5 separate regions of the Homo sapiens genome follow, and all the other regions are linked to region 4. The links are contacts of gene promoters, found by promoter capture Hi-C in blood cells and fetal thymus (Javierre and others, 2016). All regions are on one chromosome and are shown on one strand. The core of a region is centred on a gene start or on the middle of the fragment in contact, and the rest is flanking DNA. Distances in the headings are between cores, read along the strand shown. Region 1 has its middle 30 kb from the start of TBPL1. Region 2 has its middle 15 kb from the start of TCF21. Region 3 overlaps TARID (TCF21 antisense RNA inducing promoter demethylation). Region 4 holds the start of STX7 (syntaxin 7). Region 5 has its middle 14 kb from the start of TBPL1.

Region 1 (2,775 bases), core at 141-2,640, 1.4 Mb after region 4:
ATGAATTCGAAAGAGGAAACACTTCTCCTTACAGTGTCCCTCCAGCGCCCTCTACTGATAAAGTTTAGCATCGTGCCAGCTGCAAAGGAGAGATGCTGGTAGAGACTGGCTCCAGAACAGTGGGTTTCCAGCTGAACAGGCAACCAGGAGTGGATTTGGAGCTGAGAGACAACAAATTGATAACTGGAACACTGCCAAATCATTTCCTCCTATATTCTTCTTTTTCCATTCATAAGTCAAAATGGATTTGTTAGTCCATTCCCAAATTCCTAAATCCCAGGGTTTCTCTAGACACCACCATCAAAGAATTCCAAGGTAATAAAATAAACTTATTGAGGCTTGCTCTAGGATAGGTGTTTACATACATTATCTCCCTGCTGCAGTGGTAACATAGTGAGTGCTATACTTTTGGTAAGCTGTCTATAAGTACTTGCTACTACTCTTATTATTTATTTATTTTTAAGGAGTCTCACTCTGTCACCCAGGCTGGAGTGCAGCGGCGCAATCTCGGCTCACTGCAACCTCCGCCTCCCGGGTTCAAGCGATTCTTCTGCCTCAGCCTCACTAGTAGCTGGGATTACAGGCGTCCACTATCACTCCCGGCTAAGTTTTGTATTTTTAGTAGAGACGGAGTTTCACCATATTGGCCAGGCTAGTCTTGAACTCCTGACCTCGTGATTCGGCTGCCTCAGCCTCCTAAAATGCTGGGATTACAGGCATGAGCCACCGCGCCCGGCCGTTATTCTTACTTTACAATATGAGAAAACTGAAGTTCAAGAACTCACAACTAGTAAGTGATGAATCTAAAACTCTGAATGTAAGATCATTTGACTAGAATATTGGTGCTCTAGTCACTAACTCAGGACGAACTTTTCACAAAGGGACTAATTTTTTGATGTGATGTGCTAAGAAATTCCAAGTTCTAAGCTGAAAATGTGGTGCCTCAACTAAGGTCCTGCCTTTGAGAAATCCTGCAGGCATTCAACTATTGCTTTTTGGATGACACATATTTTTTGTAAATGTCTAAAAAATGCAATAGAAGTTAAGCTTTTCTCTTTAACTTTCATTGTGAGTGTGCTCAGAATCTAGCTGTATTCACATCTCTAGTTCTGGGTGATTCTATTAGCCTAGCATTTATGGAGTGCTGAGTAAATGCTAGACACTGTGCTAAGTGCTCTGCATGGCTTTACCTCTATAATCCTTGCCACAACCCAGAGGACAGGCTATTTTCCAGATGAGGAAACTGAAGACGGGAGGGGTTCAATAACTTCACCAAAGTCATCATCTAAGCGGTGACACTGGTATTTTAGTCCAAATAAGTCTTACTCCAGGACTCAACTTTTTTTTTCTTTTTTTAGACAGGGTCTCACTCTGACACCCAGGCTGGAGTACACGATCTCGGCTCACTGCAACCTCCACCCTCCTGGGTTCAAGTGATTCTCCTGCCTCAGACTCCCAAGTAGCTGGGATGATAGGCATATGCCATCACACCTGGGTAATTTTTGTAACTTTAGTAGAGACAGGGTTTCACCATGTTGGCCAGGCTGGTCTGGAACCCCTGACCCCAATTGATCCACCCTCCTTGGCCTCCCAAAGTGCTGGGATTACAGGCATGAGCCACCGCGCCTGGCCGGCTCAACATCTTGACCATGCCATGAGGCCAGGGCCCAATCTAGTCACCTTTTGCTTCCCCTCTGATGTACAGTTTTCTTTGTTTCCAATACTTTAGATATTTAAGCTTTAAAAATATAAAATGAGGCTAATATATTTTTCAGCTGCTTTCAATTAATAAAGGAAATTGCTCCTTTGAGATTATTAGGCTGTTTTAAGAATGTCAGGCAATTTTATAGGGAGCAGCCTATTTCTAATTCTTTTAGATTAGCAGAGGAAGAGCCGCTGATATGTTGCCCCCTGCCCGTTCTCACTGATTCTGGGTGAAGTAGTGCAGATATGTGGGTACATGCCATGAGCAATTTGTGATTGTCTAGGACAAGGATAGCAGCTGCTACAGTATTTTTGGTGGATTGATCTTTCATTGCCTTGCTTCTTACCCTGGGTCAGCTTGCTGGGAGCATCACATCTACAGAGTGGCTTTTATGAAACTCGAGCAGTGAGTTCACTTGTGCTTCCCTCTTATGTTTAACAAAAATATATCTCATGCCCATTTCTGTGACACTCAAACTAGAATACAACTTATGTAACTACTGAAAGCAAAACCTATTTAAATATTGACTTCTTAAATACTTGCTTCACTTAGCATTTTTTAAATTCGATTTAATTAAATAATCTCATGTATAGAATATGACTATCATGCCAAAGCTATCTGATGGTAAAAAAGATGGGAACACAAAAAAAAGAAGGTTAATAGTGTAATATCCCATAATATTGGTTTACTTAATTTGATTTTATAAAATAAAATTAAACATATGTAGGTCTACTTTTAGATAAAAAATATTCCTAAGGGCCTTCTATAGACCTCTCAATCCATGGACATCTGTCAATTATAAAATCTTCCTAAGTTTTAAGGCAGCTGCATGGCTAGGTCTAATGGCTGTCCAGGAGTTCCTGATGTACCATAAGGAGGATTTCAGAAACTTGTAGATCTCACCGAGTCATGACAGCAATTATAAACGGTTGACAATTACTGTTCTAATGAATGGACATTCACCTTTCATAAGCTTCCCAATTCTTATGCTTCTCTGTATAAACCCCTCCTTCCTGTTCACCTGTTACACCACATGGTGGCAGCCTTGTCTCTCATTTCCTTTTCTGTAT
Region 2 (2,765 bases), core at 57-2,556, 1.4 Mb after region 4:
TGGCCATTTGGAGATGAGCTATATACGGTGGGCCATCATTCTGCTACATGGATATGGGCAGCCATCTTGTAAATATGTACTTTTGGTCCTAAGTGAAAAAATTTTTAAATATGATAGATGTGTTCACAGAAACTTACCTCCACTACTGGAAAATCAACTCAAAAACTATGAATGATAGACCATCAGAGTGATAGCTGAGCTAATTTTTCATTCCCCACCTCCCAAGGCCCTCTGCATCATCTTAGGGACCATCCCCTCAAACAGTTCATCAATTTTCCAAACCTTTTTGTCTCTAGAACCTGTCTTTTGCTTTTTCTTCTCTTTTGAATCTTATACATTAACTCATAAATTATATGATACTGAATTCCACTATCCTTCTCAATATTTCATATCAGGTACATTCAAATGTATTAGAATAAGTTTTTTAAAAAGTAATATTTCCTTTTTTGGGGGGGGGGGACGGGGTCTCACTTTGTCACCCAGGCTGGAGTGCAGTGGCGCGATCTTGGCTCCCTACAGCCTCTATGTCCTGGGCTCAAGCGATCCTCACACCTCAGCCACCCAAGTGGCTAGGACTACTGTGTGCTACCTTGCCTGGCTAATTTTTTAATATTATTTATAGAGACAGCGTTTCTCCATGTTACCCAGGCTGTTCTCAAACTCCTGAGCTCAAGCGATCAGCCCACCTTGGCCTCCCAAAGTGCTAGAATTACTGGCGTGACCCATAACACCAACCAAAAAGTGGTATTTTCAAAAGCTCATAGATAGACTTGAGCTTGGATGCTCTGCCATCTAGCTGCTCTGACCCCAAGCAAATCCTTTAATGGAAGCTGATCATAATCCCAAAAGACACAATCCCAAATGCTATAAACCTGAATGTTGGAATCCCAAAAGATCAGAATCTCAAAAATATAATTCTGAAAAAAAAATTTAATTTTTTAAAAGATTTTTATTTATACTTTAAAAAGGGGATTTACTTGAGAAGCATAAAAATGCAACAGAAGGCTTCATAGGCCACTTTACATAATAAAATAAGCCATAATAATGTATATATTTTTGCAAACATAGGCACTCAGGCATACTAGTGACAGTCACATGGACAAAACAGTTATGAGCAGACAAATTGTATTCACAAGGAAGTAGGTCAGAAAAGGAAATGGATCAATGCATATCACTATGGTTGGTAGTTGAGTGTACCCAACTTTATAACTCTGGCCATCTGAAATACCATGATGAACAACCATAACCTTCTGATAAGATCAATTGAAAACCTCAATGGGTCACCACCACATATACAGTTACCCTAAGAGCTGAGATCTTGAGAAATCTTACCTTTCACAAATGCAGATGTACAAAAGAACATCTATTCATTTATTGAAGAAGTTTTAACATTTTTATGTACATGCACAATGCTTACACACAAAGGCAACATTCTGATAATGCATCTTCATGGAGTCAAATTTGCAAAACATGCATAAAACAAATTAGAATGCTCTAAAAGTCTCTATACGATTTATACCTCCAATATTGGAAATGATGTGAAGATTAAATACATAGCGTGTAGAATTATAAGAAATAATGCTGACAATTTAAAATAGTGAAAATTTTTAAAAAAAGGAAAAGCAAATTTAAAAACTAAAAAGAAAATTCAGCATATAAACAAGTATAATATAGGGATAGATTTGGGCAATTTGCATGGAGATGGTTCATAAGAGCTTGTCAAATATAATCCAACTATCCTGTGATGGTGATGTTTGAGATTTTGGGATTTGGGGATTTTAGGATTTTTAGAGTTTGAGGATTTTGCTCTTTCAGGATTTCAACATTAACAATTATGGTGTTTAAAAATGTGTCTTTTGGTATTATAATCCAAACTGTCACTTAATCTCTCTGTGCCTTGGTTTCTTCACCAGTAAGATTTCTAAAGTTCCTTCTAACATTAAAAACAATTTTTTAAAAGTTACAACTCTAGAGAAGAATCCCAAGGTTTTTGAACCAGACTGTTATTTGGTCTGATAAATACCCCACCCGGTCTCAACTGTATGCTATAGGAAGTCTTAAAAACTAGTTAGGACCAATACCAAAAAGAGCATGAAATTGCTTCTAAGACTGTCTCTCTCTCATTAGAATGAGTTCCTTCTCCACATTCCATAATATTTAAAAAAAAATCCTGAAACGAATTATACATTCACATCTGTTTAGTTACTGTTATGACCCTAGGTCTGGGACCCATCTCAACTTTGCTTATGGCTGCATAAGCAAAATGGGGCTGAGAAGAGAAGGATGATGTCCCTCTGTGAGAAGAGAGCATGGTACTCCGAGAACTTGCTAAACCTTCAAAACATTTAATATTTTATCATATGTTATTTGTTCCATCTACAGTTTAGCTAACCATTCCATGATTTCCAGGTATTTAGGTTGTGTCTGATTTTGCAGTTTTGCTTGGAGCTGGGATGCCCATCTTAGATCCTTGTCTCCATCTTCCAGAAGTAGACTTCTGGGCCAAAGATCATGACCAGTTTTAGGATGTTGATACACATTTCTAAATTGCTTCTTATTTTATACCCCACCAGAAATCACTTAGTTCACTACTAGGACTCAATTTTTAATTTAACTTTTTTTTCCTCTTGCCATAGAGGGAAGTCTAACCATTCTGCAGGTTAAGAGAATGATTGACTGAGATGAATGAGTTTATTTCCTCTCCACTAATTCATACCATGACCACTTTTGGATCAATTTTCAACTTTTTAAAAAACGTTCTTGGG
Region 3 (2,700 bases), core at 199-2,698, 1.1 Mb after region 4:
TAGTTGTATAGGCCCAATGAGCCAAATTATAACAGGGAAAACTGGAAGGCTGTACTTCAAAATATTAACAGGCTCTCTGTAGGTCACCAGATCATAAGAGATCATCTTCTTCCTTTTCTGTAGTTTCTAAGTGTTCTACAATGAGTAAGTTTCAGTTCCTTAAGATTATAATTTTTAGAATTTAATTCATAAAGCATCATTTTAATTATAAAAATAACTTTTGAATAATGTAAAATTCACAATTTAGGAATATATGAGTAACTAACAAGTATTATAAAAATGGAATAGTGCAAAGTCAAGTATAAAGAAGCTCTCAGATTTTAGTATGCCAAAAGATCCAAAATTATCTCATGCATTAAGTATTCCATAGCATTAAGCCTTAGAAAATCACTAGAATAATAATCCAGGCTTATAACTAAAATTCCACCAAGAGAGGATAGTTTATAATTCTTAATGAAACCAGTAACAAAATACAGTAACAACATAACAAATCCCAAAATAAATACAAATCTTTATCTAAATTAGCATTTTCTCTAACCATTTAACATACCTAGTCTAGATCAAAGACTCACAGCCTAAAGAGGGGTGGCAAAATTATTACAAATACTACAAATACATATGGTCATCTAACACTGTGTGTAATCTGAAAAATACCACACATATGCACTATTGTTTTCTAAATATATGTTGATGATATGGAGAATAGCAAAACACAATTATATTTAAAAGTTTTACCAAGTTCACATAGGTAATATATCTTCATGTTCCTAATCAATGTGTATTATGTGGGAATTCGGCTATGTTTTCAACACTGGATGTGTGCAACCTCTACAAAAAACAGTAAAAACCATATTTTGATACAATCCGGGAAATCAGTTATTAATTGAATATTATATGGGACCAAGAACAATTTTTAATTTTGTTAAGTGTTATGATGTCATTGTGGTTATGTTAAAACATTGTTATGTAGAGGTGAAATAATATAAGATTTGCTTTCAAATATTTCAGCAAAAAAAAAAGGAAAAAGTGATAGGCAAGCAAATATAAACTATTGATAGTTTTTGAATCTGAGTAATGGTTATATCAAGGTTATATGGTACTATTTACTCTACCTTATGAATGTTTATAATTGTTCTTTGATATTAGAAAACTTGAAACTGGGTCATTATACTGAAATCTTGGTGACTATTGAATTAGGTAACTTTTAAAAACATAGCAAATAATGTTTTAAGAAAAAGAAGTGGGAAAAACTGTTCAATATTTTTTTCTCAAAAGGGTTATCTCAATTTTTAAGGTACCTTTTAACCTGTTGGTAGCTCCTGTATTAATATCAAGATACAGTTCACATGACCAAGGAGCCAGGTTATCAAGAGTGTATATTCTACTCCTATACCTTGTGCATAGTCAATTTCTGGGCACAGAGCTAAACATTTCAAAACAGCAATAAAAGGAACAACCTTGGGTGATTCCTTTCATACTCCCCAAAGAAGATTAGGAAGGATAAGAATCATCACTAGGAAAGGGCTGAATGAGAATATATCTTATTCCTCAGGTATTAATAAAATATTGGTCTCAGAAACACAGGATTATAATTTTTGTAAGAAGTAAACCAACTTAGATAATTGTAACAAATCCCAGTAGGCAAAGGGTTTATAATTTTTGGAAGTAAAACTGCCCATTTAGAAAACTAGAATTGATTCTGTTCAAATAATTGTACCCACAGAGTAAGCACAGTCAACAAGTTTACCAAGATCAGACACCAGCACTCAGATAAACAATCTAAAAATATTCAATTCTGCTGGGGGATGGAGGGGAGAAGAAAGAAGCAAAGACAAAACTACAGGTATTTAATTTGAGTTTTACTATATTACAATTGTTACTTGTGCCTAATCAGAAATATATCTTGAGGTCTAAAAGTTTTAGAGTAATTATCATTTTTAAAATAAAAATGATAAAAATGGCTCTCCCAAAAAGCCATGAAGTGGCATCTATGATTTTCTACTTCACCCACCTAGATAACCCACCATCAGAAATCAGTCATCATTCTCACTGCTGACCACCAAACCTAGATTTTCCTCCAAAATATAGCACACCTGAGACTTATGGACAAAATGAACTTATAGCTTGAGTTACATGTTATAATATTCCAGGGTGCCTCTTTTTAATTCCATTTTGTATACTAAACTAAACACTATGGAACATTTTCCTAATTGGGGTATTGTTTCTTCTTATTTTTAATTTGTTTAAGCTCCTGACAGCCCATCTCAAACAGAAACTTAAAGGCTAGCCATGTAAGTGAATATAAATGAATTGACCTGGTCTCAGTTTATCTACAATTCATTTATTACAATGTACCTCAATCACTCATCAATTCATCCATTTACTCAGCAAAATATTGATAAATCACCTTTAAAAAACACCACAGGCACATCCTGTGCTAAGTACTAATAATACAAAAATAAATAAGAAGACATGGTCTCTGCTTTTAAGGGGCTCTAATAACAAATGAAAACAGTAGATACAAAAACAACTAACAAAACTCCAACAAGGGCTATAGTAGAGACATAAACAGAAGTGATTTCAGAGAACATAATGAGAATGTATTGTGAACTAGTTCATCTCAAATTAATTAAAATAATAATTGTAGGATTCTGGAATTGTGTATGGGTCTCCAAGCTACAAAGAGGGAGAGGATGTGCA
Region 4 (2,724 bases), core at 156-2,655:
TTGGTTTTAGTTCACAATACCGAGGATTGTTTTTTTCATACTTTCACACATGAAACTTGCAAATTAAATGGAATCACAGCAAACTTCACTCAGACTTACTGTGAATATTTTCTATAATTTACTTTTCAATCATCAGCACTTAAAGTTTGGGGTCATAACCAAAATAAGGATTGATTTTGTTATCAAGAGCAACATAAGTAACATATCTGAGGAAAAATTATGATGTTAATCAGTTAATATGGTATCATATTAACCTCTACAGAAACTGTGAAGTTAAGAGCATAATTCTTAACTAGTCACGAGTCTGAGGCCAACTTCTCAAAGTAGCCTATAAGGCCTGTCCACAACACAAAACACAGTTTAACACCGTTATCAGCCTCTGCCCAGGTGTGCTCAGAGAACCTGCAGAAGAAATGTCCACTTCCAACATTATTAAATAGCACAGCATTTCATAATTACTTTCTTTTCTTCCAGATTCTGGGCAAGTTTTATATATTATATATAATTATAGTCAGAATACAACGATCTGAGGTAAACAAAAATTAACGTATACAGATAAGAGCCAAACAAATGTAAGAAATTTGTGGGAAAAAACACACAGCATTTGATCAGAAATGCAACTTTTTTTCTTTGTCTGAATTTAAAGAAAGTAACTAGAAAACAAGGTGGAGGAAATACTAGAAATATTTTATGTACGTTTAAAGGTTTTTATGTAAATTAATTAAAGGTGTATACTCAAAGAATGTCAAAGTATGTTAAAGTCATCAAGCCAAATTAAAAAAACAATACTACGATCCTCTGAATAAATAAACATACACGGTTCGCCTGCTACAGCCATACATTTTTCAGTTCCTCTATATTCGGGAAGTTTAGTGTGTTTTTCAATCCGTGAGTTGAAAAGAGGAAGAGGTCATTTGGTCGTGTCTGGATTCCTGAGCTGGGCCCCAGCCGGCTCTGGCGCCCTCCCCGGGGTGCGCTCCGCCAGCCGTGCGCCTCCGGAGCTCTGCCCAGGGGACCGCGGCGGGTGCGTGGCTGGGTAGGCCCACCTGACCACAGCCGCGCGCACCCGGAATGCGGAACGCGCCGCGCCCTTGCACCCGGCCGGGGGGCGTGGGGAGCCGCAGGCGCTCCGGGAGCTGGGGCAGTCCCGCCCTTCCTAGCCTCCCGAGTGCCTGCTGCAGAGCGCAGGGCGGCGGCCACCTGACCACGCGCACAAACAAGAAGGCGCAGCAGCCGCAGGGGCACCGCGCCTCCCTGTCGCCCGGCCAGGGAGCCCCCTCCCCAGGGTCCTCTTACCTGGACCTCCACGGCTCCCTCCTACACCTCCGACCGCCGTCACCCACCTACCCCGGAGCCCTCAGCTGCAATTCTCAGCTGATGGGCGGTGGCGTGGGGACGCCCAGTGCGCATGCCCGCAGCACAACTCAGGAAGAAGGCGGGGTTCACCCCTTTTCTATTGGCCCGCGGGGCTGAGTGACAGCGGCCCTCACCGCCCCTCCGGTTCCAAGCTAAGGAATGGGGGTATCAGCAAAATTGCAAGGGAGCTGTTCTTTGAAGCCTGACGTAGAGATGGTGAACGCCTCTTAGCCTGCGTGCAAAAAAGGACAGAATGGAGGACAGTTGTCTTCTTTATCTGGTGAAGCCAGCCTTCTTGCACGCGGGTCTTCACCCCGCCCCATTAGCTCTTGCCTGTCTTGTTTGCTAACCTTTAACTGCAGTAGATCGCGTTGACAGCTCTATCGAAAAATGCAAAGGCGAGTACACAATCCTAGCAGGAACAATGAAGGAATAAGTGAAGAGTCATCTCTGGGTGCTCACTTGTAAACAAGTTTTCCTAGTACATACAAGTCATTCTAAGCATTCCTGAAAAGCAGGGCGTAGTTTTCACAGGGTTTAAAACAAGCAGAGACAGTTCCAATGATAAATATGCAAATATATTGTAATTGTTAGATGAAAAGCATCAATTGCTACAAATGAAAGAAAGCCCTCTCCAAATTAATTAGAAGATAGATTGGCTTAGCCTTTGCCTATATTAAGGCAACACTATTTTCTAAAATGATTACCCGGATAGGTGATATCAAAAGTCCAGACGCACTTAGGTGGAAAAAAACAAAACCCAGGATAGAATTCTGATTGGAACTCACCAACACTAAGTGTGGAATGTTGTCTGCTTAAGAGAGATGGACAGAGAAAGAATAACCCTGAAAACGAGTAACCCACAAGATAGGAAATAAACCAGGAAAAGGTAAACTAGAGAATGAAGGAAAAAAGGAGGGAATTGTCCATGATGTCACCTGTTACACAAAGTTCAAGTAAATAAAGAACTGAAAGTAGTGCATTGTACTTGAGAATTAGGAAGTGGCTGGTGAACGTAGGAAGAAACATTTCAATCATTGAAGGAACACATGAAAGGATCTTACATCCATGTGAGGTTTAGTGCACTTTCCAAATACCCATTCATATTACCTTTGATAGAACTCTGGGCTCCGGGGAGGGAAGGTACAATGCACTACAGAAGAACCTGAGATTAAGTGGCCTCTTCAAGTTACCCTGATAGTTACTGACTATGCTGGGCCCAAAACTTAGCTGTCTGAGCCCTCATCTTGGGCTCATTCCAATTCCTTGTTTTAAAATATGTTATGAGTGGATTCCTTCCAGGTCTTTTGAAAACTTAGAATAAGATTTCATCCTTTGGTATTCAAATGGGAAAAAAAAGAATTATAG
Region 5 (2,700 bases), core at 171-2,670, 1.4 Mb after region 4:
CCACCATGATCCCAAAATGCCCTAGATGGGTCTCTCTTGTAAGCTGCATATAGTTAGATTTTGTTTTTGTTTTGTTTTGTTTTTCTTTTTCTTTTTTTGAAATGGAATCTCACTCTGTCACCCAAGCTGGAGTGCTGTGGCTCCACTGCAACCTGGGTTCACTGCAACGTCCACCTCCCAGGTTCAAGTGATTCTGCTGCCTCAGCCTCCCAGGTAGCTGGGATTACAGATATGCGCCATCAAGCTCTGCTAATTTTTGTATTTCTAGTACAGATGTGGTTTCACCATGTTGGCCAAGCTGGTCTTGAACTCCTGACCTCAAGTGATCCACCCACCTCAGCCTCCCAAAGTGCTAGGATTACAGGCCTGAGCCACTGTGCCTGTCCTGTTTTGTTTTTCTTAATCAGTCAAGCTTGATAAGCTTGACTTTTAACTGGAGTATTTAGTTCATATACATTTAATGTAATTGTCTACATATTTGGGTTTTAATTTACCATCTTATGGTGTGCTATTTGTTCTACCTATTCAGTATATACTTTTCTCTTTTTTCTTGCTTCTTTCAACAAATTGTTTCTTATCATCCAATTTTTTCCCTTTACTGCTGGGAGATTGTGTAATTTGTTTCTATTCTTTTAGTAATTATCCTAGAATTACAACATGCATACTTAACCTTTACCCTTCATACAAGCTGCTTAGGATATTTGATTCCATTTGACCCTCTTCAACATATGTGATACTTGTAATTGCATTTTTTTCTATTTTTTAGATGCTATATTGTTGTTCTTTTACTCTTTCAGTGTATATTAACTTATTTATTCACCACTTTCTTTGTTCTTTATACCTTTTTATAGCTTACATTTTTTTTATCTGCCTAACGCACTTTTTTTATAACTTTCTTTAGTATGATTCTGCTTAGGAAAAACTACTAGTCTTCATTAGCCTGAAAATGTCTTTATTTCAGCCTCACTATTAAAATATTTTTCACTAGACATTAAGACTAGATAGTAATTTTCTCTCAGTAAGTGGAAGATCCCCCTCCATTGTCTTCTGATGTCTCTTGCTGCTGCTGAGCAGTCATGTCAGTTTCATATTTACTCCTTTGAAAGCAATTCATCACTTTTCTCTGATTGTTTTCACTATTTTCTTTTCTTTTTCTATTTTTTTTAGCTTTGCTCTTCAGCTGTTTCATTATGACAATTTTAGATATAGGTTTCTTCTTGTTTATTTTGCTTGAGACTCACTGGGTTGTCTTAACCTGTACATTAGTGTCTTTCATGTACATTAGTGTCTTTCATCACTTCCGTAAAATTCTCAGCCATTATCTCTTCAGATATTACCTTTGCCCCATTTCTCTCTCCTCTCCTTCCTAGATTCTGATGAGATGTATATTAATCTATTCTCCTCTGTTGTTTATTTCTTTTAATTCTTATTCTGTGTTTTCTTTTTGTCTCTCTGTTTCACTTTTAAATTATTGTTTTTCTGACCTAGCTCCTAGTTCACCAATTCTCTTTTCAACTGTATTTAGTCTGCCGTTAAAGTCATCAACTGGCTTTCAAGGTGGCCTAAAATGCATATTTACCTCCTTGCCCTTTCAAAATGCAATTAAATTGAAGAAATGTAAAAATAAAAATTATGTAAAAACATAAACATAAAAATTAATTCAGGCCAGGCATGGTGGCTTACACCTAGAGTCCCAGCACTTTGGGGGGCTGAGGTGGGTGGATCACCTGAGGTCAGGAGTTTGAGACCAGCCTAGCCAACATGGTGAAACCTCATCTCTACTAAAAATACAAAAAAAAAAAAAAAAATTAGCCAGGTGTGGTTGCGCATGCCTGTAATCCCAGTTACTTGGGAGACTGAGGCAGGAGAATCGCTTGAACCCAGGAGGTGGAGGTTGCAGTGAGCCAAGATTGTGCTATTGCACTCCAGCCTGGTGACAGAGTGAGACTCCGTCTCAAAGAAAAAAAAATTAATTCGTAGCAGCACTAAAAACCAGTATGGAGTGCCACCAGAAGACTAAAACAGTGGAGAATTTCTGAACCATATAAATTTATTTTATTCTTTGGTCCTTTTTTAAATATCTGCAACGTAATTTTTCCCGAAGATATTTCAAATTTATCTTTTATTTCATTAAATAATAACTATAGTTTTATTACCTGTTTTATAACCTGCTAAATCCAAATATTAAGTATTTGTGGTTCTATGGCCTTTGTTATTTCTGTTTGTTCTTGCTTATGTTGTCTTCTTTCCTCATGTGTCTGTTTAAACTTGACTACACATGTTCTGGTAATAGTACTTTAAAATGTATTTGTGGGAACTATCCTAGCCTAACAGGAATCCACCTTCCTATAGAGAGATATCTTTGTTTCTGCTAGGCACCTAAGGACACCATCAGTCTGAGACTACCTTAATCTAAGTTCAAAGCTTGAAATTCCCGGGACCGTCACCATGATGGAAACAACCAAAAGAGGATTTGTTTATTTCAGGTATATTCTTGCCCTAAGGACACAGCCCTTTCATTTCCTACCTCACTGTCAGGAGGATCTCCTTCCTGTTCAGCTTCCTGCTTTGTGCAATCCCTGGGCAATTGCCATACCTTTCACTCAGTGGGGACATCAAAACGAAAGTTCAAGTTGTCATTACCCCTACAAAGCATAAACACCTTCTACTGCTTATTTATCTCTCTTGGTTCTTTTTCGT

Evidence for each region. Contacts are between HindIII fragments. The CHiCAGO score rates a contact against its expected background, and 5 or more counts as called.
Region 1: a contact is called between a fragment that was not itself captured here and the fragment with the promoter of STX7 in region 4, in 6 of 17 cell types (non-activated CD4 T cells, naive CD8 T cells, total CD4 T cells and 3 more). The highest score is 11.1, in non-activated CD4 T cells.
Region 2: a fragment that was not itself captured here is called in contact with the fragment with the promoter of STX7 in region 4 in 4 of 17 cell types (total CD4 T cells, neutrophils, naive CD8 T cells and 1 more); the score reaches 10.8 in total CD4 T cells.
Region 3: a contact is called between a fragment that was not itself captured here and the fragment with the promoter of STX7 in region 4, in 1 of 17 cell types (naive CD8 T cells). The highest score is 5.0, in naive CD8 T cells.
Region 5: a fragment that was not itself captured here is called in contact with the fragment with the promoter of STX7 in region 4 in 7 of 17 cell types (total CD4 T cells, naive CD8 T cells, total CD8 T cells and 4 more); the score reaches 13.2 in total CD4 T cells.

What each region holds. Positions count from the first base shown.
Region 1 is chr6:133,921,387-133,924,161 of GRCh38, forward strand. No RefSeq gene overlaps it. Among named protein-coding and RNA genes, the nearest start is that of TBPL1, 30 kb to the right of the region's middle. The HindIII fragment of the contact is 691 bases long and covers 1,046-1,736 here.
Region 2 is chr6:133,902,461-133,905,225 of GRCh38, forward strand. No RefSeq gene overlaps it. Among named protein-coding and RNA genes, the nearest start is that of TCF21, 15 kb to the left of the region's middle. The HindIII fragment of the contact is 6,116 bases long and covers 1-2,765 here.
Region 3 is chr6:133,564,453-133,567,152 of GRCh38, forward strand. The region is part of intron 5 of TARID (TCF21 antisense RNA inducing promoter demethylation); the gene reads right to left. Among named protein-coding and RNA genes, the nearest start is that of EYA4-AS2, 110 kb to the left of the region's middle. The HindIII fragment of the contact is 6,853 bases long and covers 1-2,700 here.
Region 4 is chr6:132,511,711-132,514,434 of GRCh38, forward strand. STX7 (syntaxin 7) reads right to left here and starts at 1,406. Exons shown (of 10, transcript NM_003569.3): 1 at 1,297-1,406. RefSeq lists enhancers at 654-1,155, 1,513-1,712 and a silencer at 873-1,362. The HindIII fragment of the contact is 4,830 bases long and covers 1-2,724 here.
Region 5 is chr6:133,937,456-133,940,155 of GRCh38, forward strand. No RefSeq gene overlaps it. Among named protein-coding and RNA genes, the nearest start is that of TBPL1, 14 kb to the right of the region's middle. The HindIII fragment of the contact is 2,003 bases long and covers 420-2,422 here.